2 separate regions of the Homo sapiens genome follow, and region 1 is linked to region 2. The links are contacts of gene promoters, found by promoter capture Hi-C in blood cells and fetal thymus (Javierre and others, 2016). All regions are on one chromosome and are shown on one strand. The core of a region is centred on a gene start or on the middle of the fragment in contact, and the rest is flanking DNA. Distances in the headings are between cores, read along the strand shown.

Evidence for each region. The method cuts DNA at HindIII sites, captures the fragments that hold promoters and counts their contacts. A CHiCAGO score of 5 or more calls a contact.
Region 1: a contact is called between a fragment that was not itself captured here and the fragment with the promoter of LMX1A in region 2, in 1 of 17 cell types (total B cells). The highest score is 5.5, in total B cells.

What each region holds. Positions count from the first base shown.
Region 1 is chr1:165,563,238-165,570,340 of GRCh38, forward strand. All of the region lies in intron 3 of LRRC52-AS1 (LRRC52 antisense RNA 1), which reads right to left. It overlaps LRRC52 (leucine rich repeat containing 52), which reads left to right. Exons shown (of 2, transcript NM_001005214.4): 2 at 268-720. The coding sequence ends at 587. Among named protein-coding and RNA genes, the nearest start is that of LRRC52-AS1, 15 kb to the right of the region's middle. The HindIII fragment of the contact is 222 bases long and covers 5,315-5,536 here.
Region 2 is chr1:165,352,677-165,359,813 of GRCh38, forward strand. LMX1A (LIM homeobox transcription factor 1 alpha) reads right to left here and starts at 4,039. Exons shown (of 9, transcript NM_177398.4): 1 at 3,679-4,039; 2 at 2,808-2,905; 3 at 400-586. The coding sequence starts at 2,883. The HindIII fragment of the contact is 4,667 bases long and covers 3,739-7,137 here.

The DNA.
Region 1 (7,103 bases), core at 4,176-6,675, 210 kb after region 2:
AACAGTCCAGGCCCAGTACTTCTCAAACTCCAATGTGCAACAGATACCCTGAAGGTCTTGTTGAGATGCAGATTTGGATTCAGGAGGTCACAGGTGGGTCCTGAGATTCTGCATTTCTAACAAGGTCCAGGTGATGTCGATGCTGCTGGCCCACAGACCACACTTGGAGCACTGAGGGTGCAGATGGTCCCTCCTGATCCCCTTTGGCCTTAGGACGCTGGGAGTCACGCTGTTTCAGCACCCTGCCTGCTGTGTTTTTCTTCTTAGATGATCTAAATGCCACATGTGTGGAGCCCACAGAGCTGACAGGGTGGCCCATCACCCGGGTGGGGAACCCACTCCGATACATGTGCATCACGCACCTGGACCACAAAGACTACATCTTCCTGCTGCTCATCGGCTTCTGCATCTTCGCCGCGGGAACTGTGGCTGCCTGGCTCACAGGTGTGTGTGCTGTGCTCTACCAGAACACCCGCCACAAGTCGAGTGAAGAAGATGAGGACGAGGCCGGGACTAGGGTGGAAGTCAGCCGGCGGATTTTTCAAACCCAGACGAGCTCGGTCCAGGAGTTCCCTCAGCTTATTTAGTTGCCAGAGACCACTATCTTATGTGCCTCCCCCAGGCTCCCTGCTTTCTCTCTTGCCCTCCCCATCCCACCACCTTGGAGCTGTCATAGAGATTGAAACCTTCTAGTAAAATAAATAAAATCTCTGATGGCCATTTCACAGGTTGGTCCCTTCCCACTGCACCAGCCCGAGGATGATTCCTTGAGCTCAGCAGGATGGGGTAGAACAAAATCTAGAAACGTTGTTGGATGCACCTAAATACCGAGAAAGTCTACCCCAAAAGTAAGCCATCTCATGTTTAATAAGTACATATTATGTCCCCAAACTAAGTGCTGGAGGGATGGATACAAGGAATACAAGATTTAAGATCTTCCCTAAAGAGCAAACAATTTAAGTGGAAGTGAAGATTAATATTAATCAAATGGAGAAAAGTATAAGACAATGATAAGAACTAACATTAATGGAATGTGTCCATCCATGTACCATCTTCACACTCCATCTTGTAGTTATCACAGCCATCCTATAATATTGATATTATTTTACCGTGAAAATTTGAGGCCTGAACAAGTTAAACAACTGATTGAGGTCACCCAACTGGTAAGTAACACAGCCTCCCAAAGTCCATGTTCTTTCCTTTACATGAAATATAAATATTTAGCAGCACAACCAAGGGTTCATCATGTAAGCCTGGCCACACAAAGGTGGCCACCACCCAGCGGGTCCATCCCAAGTACCCAGCATTGTGCCCAGCTTTATGCACATTTCCCCCTGGGCTAATGTGCGTGACAACAAGGTCAGGTGGTCATTGTCACCATCGTTTTCCTGAGGCATGGAGAGATGAAGTCACCAGCTCAAGATCACATAGTTGGTAAGAGCAGAGCAACTGCTGGACCCATGCCAAAGTCCATGCCCTCTCACTACAAGCTACTGTTTATCACTGAGCACTAAACAGAATAGCCAAGTGTACACAAGCATGTCCTGCGCTCAGGGACATGTGGCAAAGGGAGTGAAGAGAGGGTTGGCTCAACCCAGGCCCCAAGACCCATTCCAGGTTTTCCTTTTTGCTCTACTCAGATCAAATTATACTCATGTTCAAGACTCAGATCAAACCCCCACCCATGAAACTAGCTGTCTCTAAACCCCCAACCAGACCCGTTTTTACATCTGCACTTCCACTGTGAATTGCATGTGACTCTAATCACCACTTGCCCTCCAGTTTGTTTGGTGCAATGCTTAAGAGCATGGGTCCAGACTCAGGAGCTGGATCTCTATCCCCAGTTCTGCACTTAGCACTGTGTGAACTTGGGCTTCCTACTTATAATGACCTTGAGAGCAGAGACCATTTGCCTTCAGTGTTCTCTATTGACACAGCATATAGAGTGATAACTTCCACAAAATAAGTGTTTATTACTGCATTCTATTTAAATCCCAACCCACCAATCATTCCTACTTTGTTATCCTGAACTAAGAGTGACCATGGGCAAGTTATTTAACTTTTGTGTGTCTCAGTTTCTTCATCTGTAAGTGGCAATCACTGCAGTGCTTATATAGGGATATTTTGAGAATACAATGAATATCAATTATAATAAGAATTTATTTTAATACACTTTTTATTATGGAATAACTTTGGACTAAGCTACAGAGGTAGCACAGAGTTCCCACATACCTCTCACCCAGTTCCCCCTAACGTTATCTCACATTACAGTGGTACATTTATCAAAGCTGAAAAATTTATATTGGAACACTATTATTAACTAAACTCCACACTTTATTGGTATTTCATTAGTTTTTTTTTCCACAATGCCCTTTTCTCTGTTCCAAGACCCAATCTAGGATACCACGTTTGCATTTAGGATATTTTTAATATAATAACACGTCTAACTTTATTGGGCACTTCTATATGCTAGGCATTGTTCTAAGTGCATATACATACACACAAACACATACACATACACACACAAACACACACATCTCAACTAATTGAATCATCACAACAATCCTATGAGGTAAGCATTATTCCCATCAGATCCTGAAACTGAGGTTTAAGAGGGTAAGTAACTTGCTAAACATTACACATCTAGTACAACCAGAAGTGAAACCAGCTGTGGCTGACTATAGACTGTTTCCTCCAAATCACTAATCAATATTGTCTCTCAGGAATTTAAACTACCAAGAAAGTCTTGGCAAAAGAAATGTGAATTGCAGCTTTTCATGATAGCTTCTCCCCTAAGATTTCGCCTGGATCTTCCAACAATAAGTAATTCCACAAAAATGGGCTGAGCACCTACTCTGACAAGGCCTGGGAAGATCACAGTGAACGTGGCAAAGTGGTGAAAGCTCAAGGAGCTTCCAGTTCAGTTTGGTGGAGAAACAAGAAAAAAGTCCATTTCAAGACAGAGTGGTAAGTGAAGGGCCGGCACAGTATTCTAAGGGGACCCAAAGGAAGGGCGCCTCAACCAGGAGGCAGTAGGGCATCCTGGAGGGCTTCTCAGAGGAAGAGGCATCTACACTGAGGCTTGAAAGTTGAGTTGAGATTCACCAGACAAAGTGGTAAAGTGGATGTGGGTGACAAAAAGACATCCTAAGCAACAAGAACTGCATCTACAAAGGCCTGGAAGTGAGGAAGAGCCTGGCATGCCATTATAACTGGAATATAGAGTATAAGGGAAGGAAGAAAAGAGAAATAATGTTAGAGAGAGAAGCAAGGCCAGATCCTGAAGGGCCTTTTATATCCCTGTGTTGGTCAGGATTATGATAGGCTATGCTACAATAACAAATTAACCCCAAAGTTTCATTGGCTTACCACAACAAAGACTAATTTGTCACTCATGTAGAGTCCCATGTGGGTAGGGAGCCCTCCCACCCTGTAGCTCCAGCACCTAGAACATGGCCTCAGAGGTCCACTCCAGAAGAGAAAAGAGAGGCCATAGGCACACAGCTTGTAACTACTGGGCCTGGAAATGACACGTGTCACTTCAACTCACATTTCACATGGTCCCAACCTTACTGAAGAGAAACATAGTCTGTGTGCCAAAAATGCTGTGGAAAACAAGGAATTGTCTCTGCCCCACCAGGATAAGATATGGGACTTGCTCATGAAGTACACTCAAGAGTTGTAAGCATGAGAACCACCAAGTCTAGTTAATTTGTATTTGAGAAAACTCACTCTGGCTGTAAGGTGAAGAAGAGACCAGAGGGAGGCATGACGGAAAATGGGGAGACTAGCAGTATTGCAGTATTCTAGCAGGGGGTGCGGGTGATAGACCAAAGGCAGTGGCTGTGGGAACAAACAGAACTGGATGAATTTGTGAGGTTATGTCAGAGGTAGAGTTGGCAGAATTTCATGAGTAACTGGATTTGGGATGTTGGGGAAGAATTAATGGAGGGAGGATTCAGAGAAAGAAGAAGGAGTTAAGGAGAGGGCCCAAATTTCTGATTTGGACAGCCAGGTGGCTGGCAGCATCAGTCACCAAGGAGGAGAAAACCACCACATGGCATACTGGATGCAAAAATGTGCTGGGCAATAAAATATGGGGAAGGGATATGGGGAGGATGGAGGGTTATATCCTCATTGTCTCAGTGGAAAGTCGGTAGCTGGTGCCTAACACTGAAAAATCAAATGGGAGCAATAAAGGCATAATTTTTAGACATATCAAAAGAAATCAGCAAAAAGAGTTCCAGGTGCTTGCCTCTGGAGAGGAAAAAACACTGGGACAAAAAATGGAAGACTGCTATTTAATTTAAAAAAATTTGTACAACTGCTACTCTTTAAACTATGTGCATACATATCTGATAAAAATGAATTTTTTTAAAGGAAAGACCAGCTGGTCTAGGATGTTGCTCCTTTCCTCTGAGAGGTGTCTTTTGTCTTTAACCACCTTAAATGGTGAGATGTCCATTGTGATTACAAAGGGTAGGGTACTAGTCAGTGGGACACTCATACCACCTGCCACATTTCCCCATTTGCAATAGGCCCCTGCACTTAATTCTCAGAAAAATCAAGGAGGGCTTTTTAGGGGAGATTATGCTTGACCTACATCTTGAAAAATCATAGAATTTCACACAGGAAGGAGCATTTCAAATGGATGGTAAGGGTTAGAGCATGGAGGTATGGCAAACAGATGTGTTAGGGGAAAAGCTGTAGTTGTGTTTGGAGCCTGGAAGACAAATGAAGGTGACTAGAAAATGGAGATGGAAGACCAATCAGGGAGCTCACGAAAGTGGTAAATGTTTCTCCAAAGAAGGCTCATGGACCCACATCAAGATCCTGACGATCTCTCAGTCCTTCAGATGCTCAGGAAGGATAGGCAGTATCCCGCATTTTAGTAAGTTCGCTAGGTGAATTTCATACACACCAAAATTTGAGAAACACAAGTCAAGCAAGAGGATAAAGTCCTGAAATAAGGTCATGGCAGTGCGAATGGGAGGAGGAAATGGTTATCAGACCCAGGGTCTCTTGGGTCCAGAGCTAGCCTTGGCCAACAAGTCAGGTAAAGTGGCTTTTCTGCCTGCAAAGAAATGCAGATCGTGGGGAAGCAGCAATGCCCTGCAGCTCCTGCTTACCTTTGACTTTCATTCCTGCCTCAGTGCAAGTCCTCCCACTAAATATGATATAGGGATTTCGAGTCTCAGCTTTTCCACTCTATATGTACTCTGAAAAAAATCACTTTATTGCTTGAGTCTCAGTTTCCCCAACTGTAAAATGAAGTGGTTAGACTAGATTACCTCAAAGGCCACCTCTAAATCTAAGCTTCTAAAAACAACTCCGGATAATATCCAGAACATACAAGGAGCTCCTACAAATCAAAAAGAAAAGCATGAAACTCCAATAGAAAAAACTGGCTAAGAATATGAACAGGCAATGGATAGGAGATGAAAAAAAAACTAGCAAGCATATGCTGATGCTCATCAGTAATCAGAGAATGCAGATGAAAACAATAGATGTCACTGTGTCTCTATTAGATTTGCAAAGCTTTGAAATCTGGATGTTGCATTTTGGCAAGGATATTGGGCTGCAGGAACCCTCATGCCTTGCTGAAGGGACTCTAAATGGGCACAGCCAGCCTAGAGAGTCATCTGGCACTAATAAATTAAATTCAGTGGGACCTGGGACCCAGCAAATCCACTTGTTCCTGGGTGTTTCTCCACAGAAATGATCATACAAGTCCACAAGGGAACACATATGAAGACATCCATGGCAGTATTATTTGTAATGGCAGGGGTGTGGAAGACTGACTAGGGAAAATTTGTGGATTACTATAGGACAGTTACAAATAAATAACTAGGGGCAGGCTGTGGTGGCTCACGCCTGTAATCCCAGCACTTTGGGAGGCCGAGGTGGGAGGATCATGAGGTCAGGAAATCAAGACCAACCTGGCTAACATGGTGAAACCCCATCTCTACTAAAAAATACAAAAAAAAAAATCGCCAGGCATGGTGGCGGGCACCTGTAGTCCCAGTTACTTGGGAGGCTGAGGCAGGAGAATGGCGTGAACCCAGGAGGTGGAGTTTGCAGTGAGCCTAGATCATGCCACTGCACTCCAGCCTGAGCGACAGAGTGAGACTCCGTCTCAAAAAAAAAAAAAAAAAGGAAAAAAAAAAGAAAAAAGAAGAGAGAAATAAATAACTAGGTATACATCTAGCAACAAGATGAATACAGCTGAGTAGGGAAAAAAGAATAAATATAATGAGAACACTCTATAACACTCAGCATCCTGAAATGGCTCCCTATTTCCTTCACAATAAGAGCCAAAGTCTTCACAATCTCCCACCAGGCCCTAAATGATGTGCCTCCACCCCTACCCCCACCACCTCTTTACCTCACTGATGTCATCTTCTATCACTACCCCATTGCTTACCCTGCCCAGCCTCACTGGCCACCCTGCTGCCATGAAATGATATGGGGCATTGATGCTGCCACAGAGCCTTTGCACTGGCTCTTCCCTCTTCCTGGGCTTGTAACCCTTCAAAGTACCCTACACATGCATTCACACTCCTTTTCCCTTACCCTGCTCAATTTTTAACTTAGACAATAATCAATTATAATAACTAAATTGTATCCTAGTCTAAAAGGCAATAAGTACTGTCTTCTCATCCCCACCTTCACCTCTAGAATATAAGCTCCCTGAGAATGGGCATTTTTGCTTATTTTGTTCACTGATGTCTCCCAAGAATGAGAGCAAAACCTGTCCCAAAAAAGGCACTATTTTAAATACACTTTTAAACACATTATATGAATGCACATGCAGAAAATGATGAGTGGGAATTGGCGATAAAGGGGATTAAACAAAATAAGAGAGGAGCCTAGTCTGGATCAAGGATGATAACACACCATTAAGGGAGGATTCTGAGTAATTCAACCTTCTATACCTGAGGTTAACAAAAGGGGAGGAGGGAAGCAGTGTCTGGTCACCTCCCCTGAGCCCATCTGTTGAAGTTTCTCCTTTTGCCGGGTCTTTGCCAAGCCCATCTACACAGCAGCTGTTTCTGAGATTGCAAGGTCGTTACTGGGCTGAGGATACCTCACAAGCAACCCTT
Region 2 (7,137 bases), core at 2,789-5,288:
AGCAAGGAGACACGGGGTCACTGGCAACCCGCAGGGCACCCCGGTAAAAGAGGGAGACCAAGCTCGAGGGATTCCAAGGCTAACAAAGAGTGGCCTCTGGAAACGGCCGAGTCAGAGAAAGGGGCCTGGAAGGACCAGAAAGCAGGCGAGCAGACCGTGGAGGACAGCCATTGCGCGCACTTCTGCGGGACTCGGGCCACTGCTGCGCGCACCCGCGCGGATCTCTGCCCTACCACCTTCCCGTGAGGGGCAATGTACACGACTGCGCTGAAGGGAAGTTCTGCTCGCTGGGCGTGTCTCTTGGGCCTTCCAGAAAAGGACTAGGGTAAAGGAGGACAAAGTCCTCGACGCACACTGATGCCAGTGCGCGGGGAGCGCTGCGGGGGTGCGGCCACTTACTTCTCGTAGTCATACTTGCAGTACAGCTTCTTGTCCCGGTAGAAGCAGGTGGTCTCCAGGGGCTCTTTGCAGGAGGCGCACTGCACGCACTGCTCATGCCAGAAGCTGTCGTTGAGCCGCAGCAGAAACCTGTCCAAGATGACCCGCTGACAGCCCTCGCAGACAGACTTGGGGCTCACCGCTCTGCCTGTAGCCACAACAGACGTTGGCGGGTGAGCAGCCCGGGCAGGTAGACCATGCCAAACCTGGCCGGGACCCGCTCCTGATCCCTTCACATCCACGGATTCCCCCAGCGCCCCCCACCCCAGGGAACTCCTGCTAATCAACCAAGCTGAAACCTGGAAAAAATCAAGCCAAGTGGCGTTTCTAATAAACGGAGACTATGTGAGAAGGTTTAATTCCAAGCGGGGGAGGGTATAGAAATCAATAATTGGCCTTTAATTAACAAACATACCCAGGTATGCTCGCAAACGTCTGCACATCCTGTAAGATTAAATTACATACAAATTTGTGCTCTCAGGTTTATTACGTCGTAATTAATTATTAAATCACTATGCCTGTCTCTACTGACTGTTTTAAAAACTGAGAATGCATAAGAACAATTTGGATTTTTCTTTGTTAAAACGCAGAGTTCTGTTCTATTTTTTGAGGGGGAACAAAATTTTCTCTTTTCTTCCTAAAAAGTCCTGGGGGTACAGAAAAATACCGTCTCACTCCGAAGCAAACCTAATATTATTCAAACCGATGAACCCCAAACTGCTGCGTCTTGACTGGCATGCATATTGCACATGGGTTTTTGATAACTAAGAAGCGTCAAAACAGAGGGAGGGAAAAAAATAGCGGAAGAAGCAAGCCGCTGAGTGTCCCGGCCGGGATTCCCGATGCCAGGCGCGTTCGGCAGCAGTGCTTGAGGGCGAAACGGGCCTCAAAGTGACTCAGCGGAGGCAGGAAATCCACTCTTTGCTACCCCTTGGACTTTGTGTTTTGTTCCTTTAGTTTGTGGGGGGCGGAGAGGTGGTTCAGGTGGCGACGCTTGGCCACCTATATTGGCACTTTTCACAGCTATTTAAAGAAGGCCTTGTCCCCCAGCAACAACACTCTTGCCCTTGTCCCCCCAGTACCAACACTCTTGCGCTCCCCATTTCCCGGCTGCACTCTTCTCATTCTCCCCTTCCGAGAGGCCCGGCCACCGGCTCGGGAGCTGGGCCGGTCGCTTTGGGAGCGGATGAGGAAGGTTAGGAGAAGCAGCGAGATAGATCCCAATTTTACAATTCTATTTTCTTTCGGTAGGGTCTCGGCGTCCTGGGCCACGTTGAGAGCGAACGTGGGCCGAGCGGAGGACACAGAGTAAAAAGCGACGCCCGCTGTATACATAAATCCGCACCCGCTGCCCGCCCGGGTACTGCCTGCTCTGGCTTCCGCTCTCTTCCGAGGCTGGGCAAGTCCAAAAGTTCCCGAAAGGGGGGTTCAAAGAGGGGCGCTCAGTGCACGTGATTTCGTTTCATCTAGGGTGTTGGGGGTGGGGAGATTCCTCACTGGATTTGGTTTCTCCAGCAGAACTGTCTCATCCTCCACATTCATGCCGCTCTAGCGGTTCCGAGTGAAAGAGGCAAGAGGTTTAAAGGACAGAAGGAAAACTCCCTCCTGCTAAAAATAAATAAATAAAATAAAATAAAATAAAATACGGGCTTCCCAAACTTGAAAAGCTCCAAGGGCAGAGTGGGTGGGGGAGCCGTAACCAGAATCTCTGGCTTCAGCTCTGCAAGACCCGTGTGTGGACACTCTTCCGGGGTCCTTGACTCGCTGCTCCTCCTCTGTCGCTGCAAAGGAGTTGTGAGGGGGGACCCACAGGACCCGACATCCAGCTCCAGTTAATTAACGCGGAGCCTAGGGCCCAGCCGCGCGGTCTAATCCCCGCGCTGCGTTGCCTACTGGCCCAGAAAAGTCTCTCTCGGCCTTGCCCATGGCTGAAATTGGGGCTGGAGTTGGTGGGGGAGAGAAGCCTCCTCGAACTTGGGCGCTCCAGGCCTCGGGTCTCGGATGCTATTGCCTCTAGGCCGCGAGAAGAGGGCGGCATTTATGAGACGTCGATCAGCTCCGAGATTAAAAATCCAGCCCTGGGTATTTTTAATCACTTGCCACTCAGACGCCTACGAACAAGCTCGCCCGCCCCTCGCGGCTTTGGGGAATTCGGTGCCCAGTGCGTGAGGCCTGGGGCGGCTTGTTGGATTTATTTGGGTAGGGACGACCCACAAGCACTGACGGACAGATAGTGATGGGGCTCAATTTAGTGTATGAAGAGGGGCGCTAGCTTCCCTATCGCGGACCAGGTCCCAGAGAGCGGGGCTCCAGAGCTCAGCGCCAAGCGGAAAGAGAGTGCGCCCAGGACGCACGGCCTGAACACTCACCCAGCAGCGAGGAGAAGGAGGCCGAGGTGTCGATCGCGCTTTGGAAGTTCTCCTCCATCTTTAGGCCGTCCAGCATGTTCGGGCCGGGCCGGGAGGACCTGTAGAGGAGAAGAAACGATGCGTCTGACGTCCGTGCCCGCTGGGACTCGGCGCCAGCAGCCACCGCACTCCTGGGAAAGAACTGAGGGAGTGTCCAGGGCGACCAGAATCAGCCAGGAGGATAGGGTCCAGCCAAGAGAATGTAGGGTGGGAGGAGAGATCAGTCACAGCGAACTGCTCTGGCTGATCTGATTTCACTTGAAGTCAACACGTTATGTACTTAGGCCTCCGCCCCCCAACTGCGTTTCTCCTTCTCCTGCCCCCCTCACCCCCACCTACATCCCTTGCCCCAGGTTTTCCATCCCGAATCCGACTCCGCCCCAACCTATACGAAGGTGGGCCCTCGGGACGTCTCTGCAGGAACGCAGCTACTGGGGTATATTGGGTATATAAAGAGTGGGTACCCTCCCTCGAGCGACCGGGTCCAGGCACGCGGGACGATGGGGTTTGCAATCCCGCGTCCCAGCCGCCCCGTTGCGGCCCTCACCTGCCCCAGGTCGAGAAGGGGCACTGTAAGGGACCCGGAGGGCGTCCCGCCCGCTTCTGGACTCCTGGCGCTGCGCTCTGTTGGGGTGCGCGCAGGAGCCGGTGTGCGGGGCGCGCGGGGAGGTCCTCCCGCCAGTCGGCCAGTGCCGGGAATGTCTGCAGAAGCAAAAGAGTCGCCTCGGGGAGGAGCCCCGGCTGGCCCGGCTCACTCTTGGATGCATTTCAAGTCAACTTTCAGAAACACGCCCGCCCGAGCCACAGCCTAGGCACGGGCAGCCTTACTTACCTGGTAGGCGAGCTCTCTCCCAGTGACTGGAGCAGAGAGAAGTTGCGGAGCGCTGCTGGAAGCTTCTGCCCGGGAAGGCGTCGCCCCCGAGACTGCAGCCGGAGGAGCCGCCCTCGGCTTCGGAGCGCCGGGGAGGGAGCCGGAGCGAACGCCGGCCGCTGGCTCTGCTCCTCGGCGCGCCCAGGCTGGGCCGGGACGTGGTCGCGAGCTGCCGGCCTTCCCGGGACGTCCTACCAGCCCGCGTCGCTCCTCAGCGGGAGGAGAGGGCCAGTTGCTTCTCCAAGGCTAGGAGGGAAGGCAGAGGCCCAGGGTCCTGGGTGCGAGTCGGCCCTGCTTCGCCGGGGCGGATCCTGCAGCTTCTGACAGGGGCCGCGGCGCTGCGTGCGCGGCGGCGGAGAGGGGGTGGGGTGCGCTGGGCGGGGGGCTGGCAGCGCGTCCCGTGGCGGGGCCGTGGTGCTCCCTTTCCCAGCCTGGCTGCGCGGCCACCACACGGCCGCTGCCCTCTGAGCCCCTCCGCCTCTGGGAGCTCTCGGACACGCTAAGTTTCCTCCCCTCCACGTGTAACTGTTACCTCGGGGCGCTCTGGCCCGGTCGCCCCCCAGTGCCCCTCACCCCGACTGGGCCTTTGCGGAGATGTCGGCGCCTCCTGGACAGCGGTGCCGCCACGAGGATTCCCCCGCCGCTCTCCAACTGCTGCTATAAAAGCGCTGCAATCCTTACCCGGGCCCCGGGAAGCGCTGAGAAGCTGTTTAGCGCCAGTAGATGTGGGCCCAGCAGCTCCTAGCTCCTCAAACCCCTCATCACCCGAGGGCTCATGCCAGTTTCCAACTTCCTTTAAGGTCGAACCATATTCACTCATGGGGCGTACAGAGGCCATGGGACTCACGGCCTAAGAATCATGCTCTTGGGAGACACTAGGTGGGATCTGCCCCCCAGATGATGAACTTGCAATGACACTCAACAGGAAATCAGGTAAAGGGACATTGTTAGGGGAACAAAGTATCTGGGGAGAAATGTGAATTATCTGCACCTCCTAACTTTAATTTACAATAACAGACCTTTAGCCCCCTCCAGAGCAGGAATAAGGCCTTATCCGTCTGTATAGCCCAGGAGGTAAGCATGTTGTGTGACCCCAAGTGGATGCTCAATAAATAAATTACAATGCTGGCTAGCGTTTATCGTTTATTTTGTGCCAGCTTTGTTACACAGTCACCTCATTTAATCTTTACAACAACCCCCATGAAGTGGAGACAATTGTTGTCCCAATCTTACAGTTGAGGGAAATGGAAGGGAATTCATGGAATCCGAGTCCCATCATCTGAATACCATGGGAAGGTTCAGTTCAATTCAGTGTGATTCTCTGGGGCACCTTCAGTTCCTAAACTGAACTGAACTGAGATGAAATTGGCAGGCCGTTTGACATGGTGAACTCAGGCAGAGGAGATGCCACATAGCCAGGGTTTTTCTATTACCTCCTCCAAAGACAGAGCCACTTCTTTATTCCTAAAGAAAAAGTGCTGGCAGCAACTTGCTCTAATGTGCTTAGGAGCAGCGACCCCACTAAGCACTAAAAAAGCCATTCTAAGTGCTTTCTGCCAGCAGGCACAAGCCAAACACTGAATATGACTCCAGAAGAAAGAGGGGAAATGGCAAAGAGGCTAATACGTTATATTCGAATGCTGCTTTACAGGCATTTTCACATACATGATTTTGCTTGATCTTTACAGCAAACCTGTGAGGTAGGCAGAACAGTTTTATCTTTTGTTTCAGATGAATCTTTGGAGCTTAGCACGGCTGGGAGATTTCCCTGATGTTGCCCAGATGGCTAGTGGCATGTCTCCTAACACCTGACCTCTGTCCTTTCTGTCACCCCAGGTAGAGCAGGGTGTAAAAAAATACAAACTACAAGTATTATTAGGATAATATGTGAAATAGAAGTTAAGCAAGAAAAAAATGGAATAGGGCAGATACAACCATAAGGAATGTTTTTATGTAAATACCCGGCAGAATTTTGGTTTCACTAAAGGTCTTATATGAAATATATGAAATACATTTTAACTAGTGGTAAGACTATTCCTTTTAGTGAATATCCTGAAAGTAGATAGATTGTCATTTGACCTGAAACTCAAATCTTTCAAACAATTCTTACATCCACCCACAAGGCCGCTTGATTAGTGTAGATCACACAGGTTTTTGGTGAGAATGTCTCCCCAGCCATTGGGCACTTCAGGATGGGGACGGTGCCTCAAAAATCACATCATAAGTCATATCACTTTTAGTGCAGACCTAGACACATACAATTGATGAACAAATGCCTTTTACTTGGTTGAGGAATGAATAGAACTCTCACTACAGTCAGAAGGCACTGCAGTGAAGGGTCAGGAATCAAAGGACCTCCGTTCCATTCCCAGCTTTGCCACTGAATTGGTCTGGGCCATCAGTTCACCTCTTTAGATGTCAATACCTCTCTGGAATGAAGGGTCTACATTATGTGGTTGGTCAGGCCCTCACAGTCTAAAGTCTGTGAAACCAGTCCAGTGGGGTAGGCAGTGGGGTAGCTTTGGCCAGTGGGGTAGGCAGTAGAACCAACAGATCCATATGAGGTGCTGAGCAGTGGTTGCCTAGGTATAGTCTTGGCTGATGTGTTTAAGTGATGTGTCTAAACCAATAAAGATAAAACTTATTTATTCGGAGTTTTCTCTTTTGTGATTTATTTGCCCTCTTTCAATGAAGTAGGAGTCATGAATCCCATTCCTACCCAAGGATTGTTTCAGTTTGGCCTTATCCAACTCAGTGACATGGATGGGTGAGACGATCACAGGTGGATCATTCTGACCCCTCTATGAAAGATCCTCCTAACCATGCCTCGTGTTTTTCCTTGTGATTTAAACTCAAACACTTTTATTTTACCTTTTAAATGAAAGAAGATGCCACAGAGCCACTGCCCAGAAGCCATTTATGAAGAATCAGCCATCTTCTCCCTTTTATCAAAAAGAAGTACTCTGAGAATACATGGGAATGAGGTGAATAGGCTTCAGAGGGGACTCAAAAGATTACACGTTTAGAGTTGGAAATGATTTTAAAGCTCATGTGGTCCAACCATTTAGTTTGTAATGGATCAAAATTCATTTCCCTAAAGTTTCCACCCTCTGTTCCATTGATTCCTCGGGGCTAGCCATTCAGGAAGTCAAATCCTGCCTCTAAAACTTTTAGATGAAGGCAGAGCTGGCCTCACTCTCCTGCCCAGTCTTCGAATCTGATCCAGTTTTCCTGTCTCTTATAAATTATGGCACCCAGGCCTGCTGTGAGTTTCCAGTGATAGTGTATTCAGGGTGTTTCTCAAGCAATATAACACCCATTAATGTTCCTGATTTTGTATGAGCATTTTCTTTTTTTTTTTTTTTTTTTTTTTTTTTTTGAGATGGAGTCTCTCTGTGCCGCCCAGGCTGAAGTGCAGTG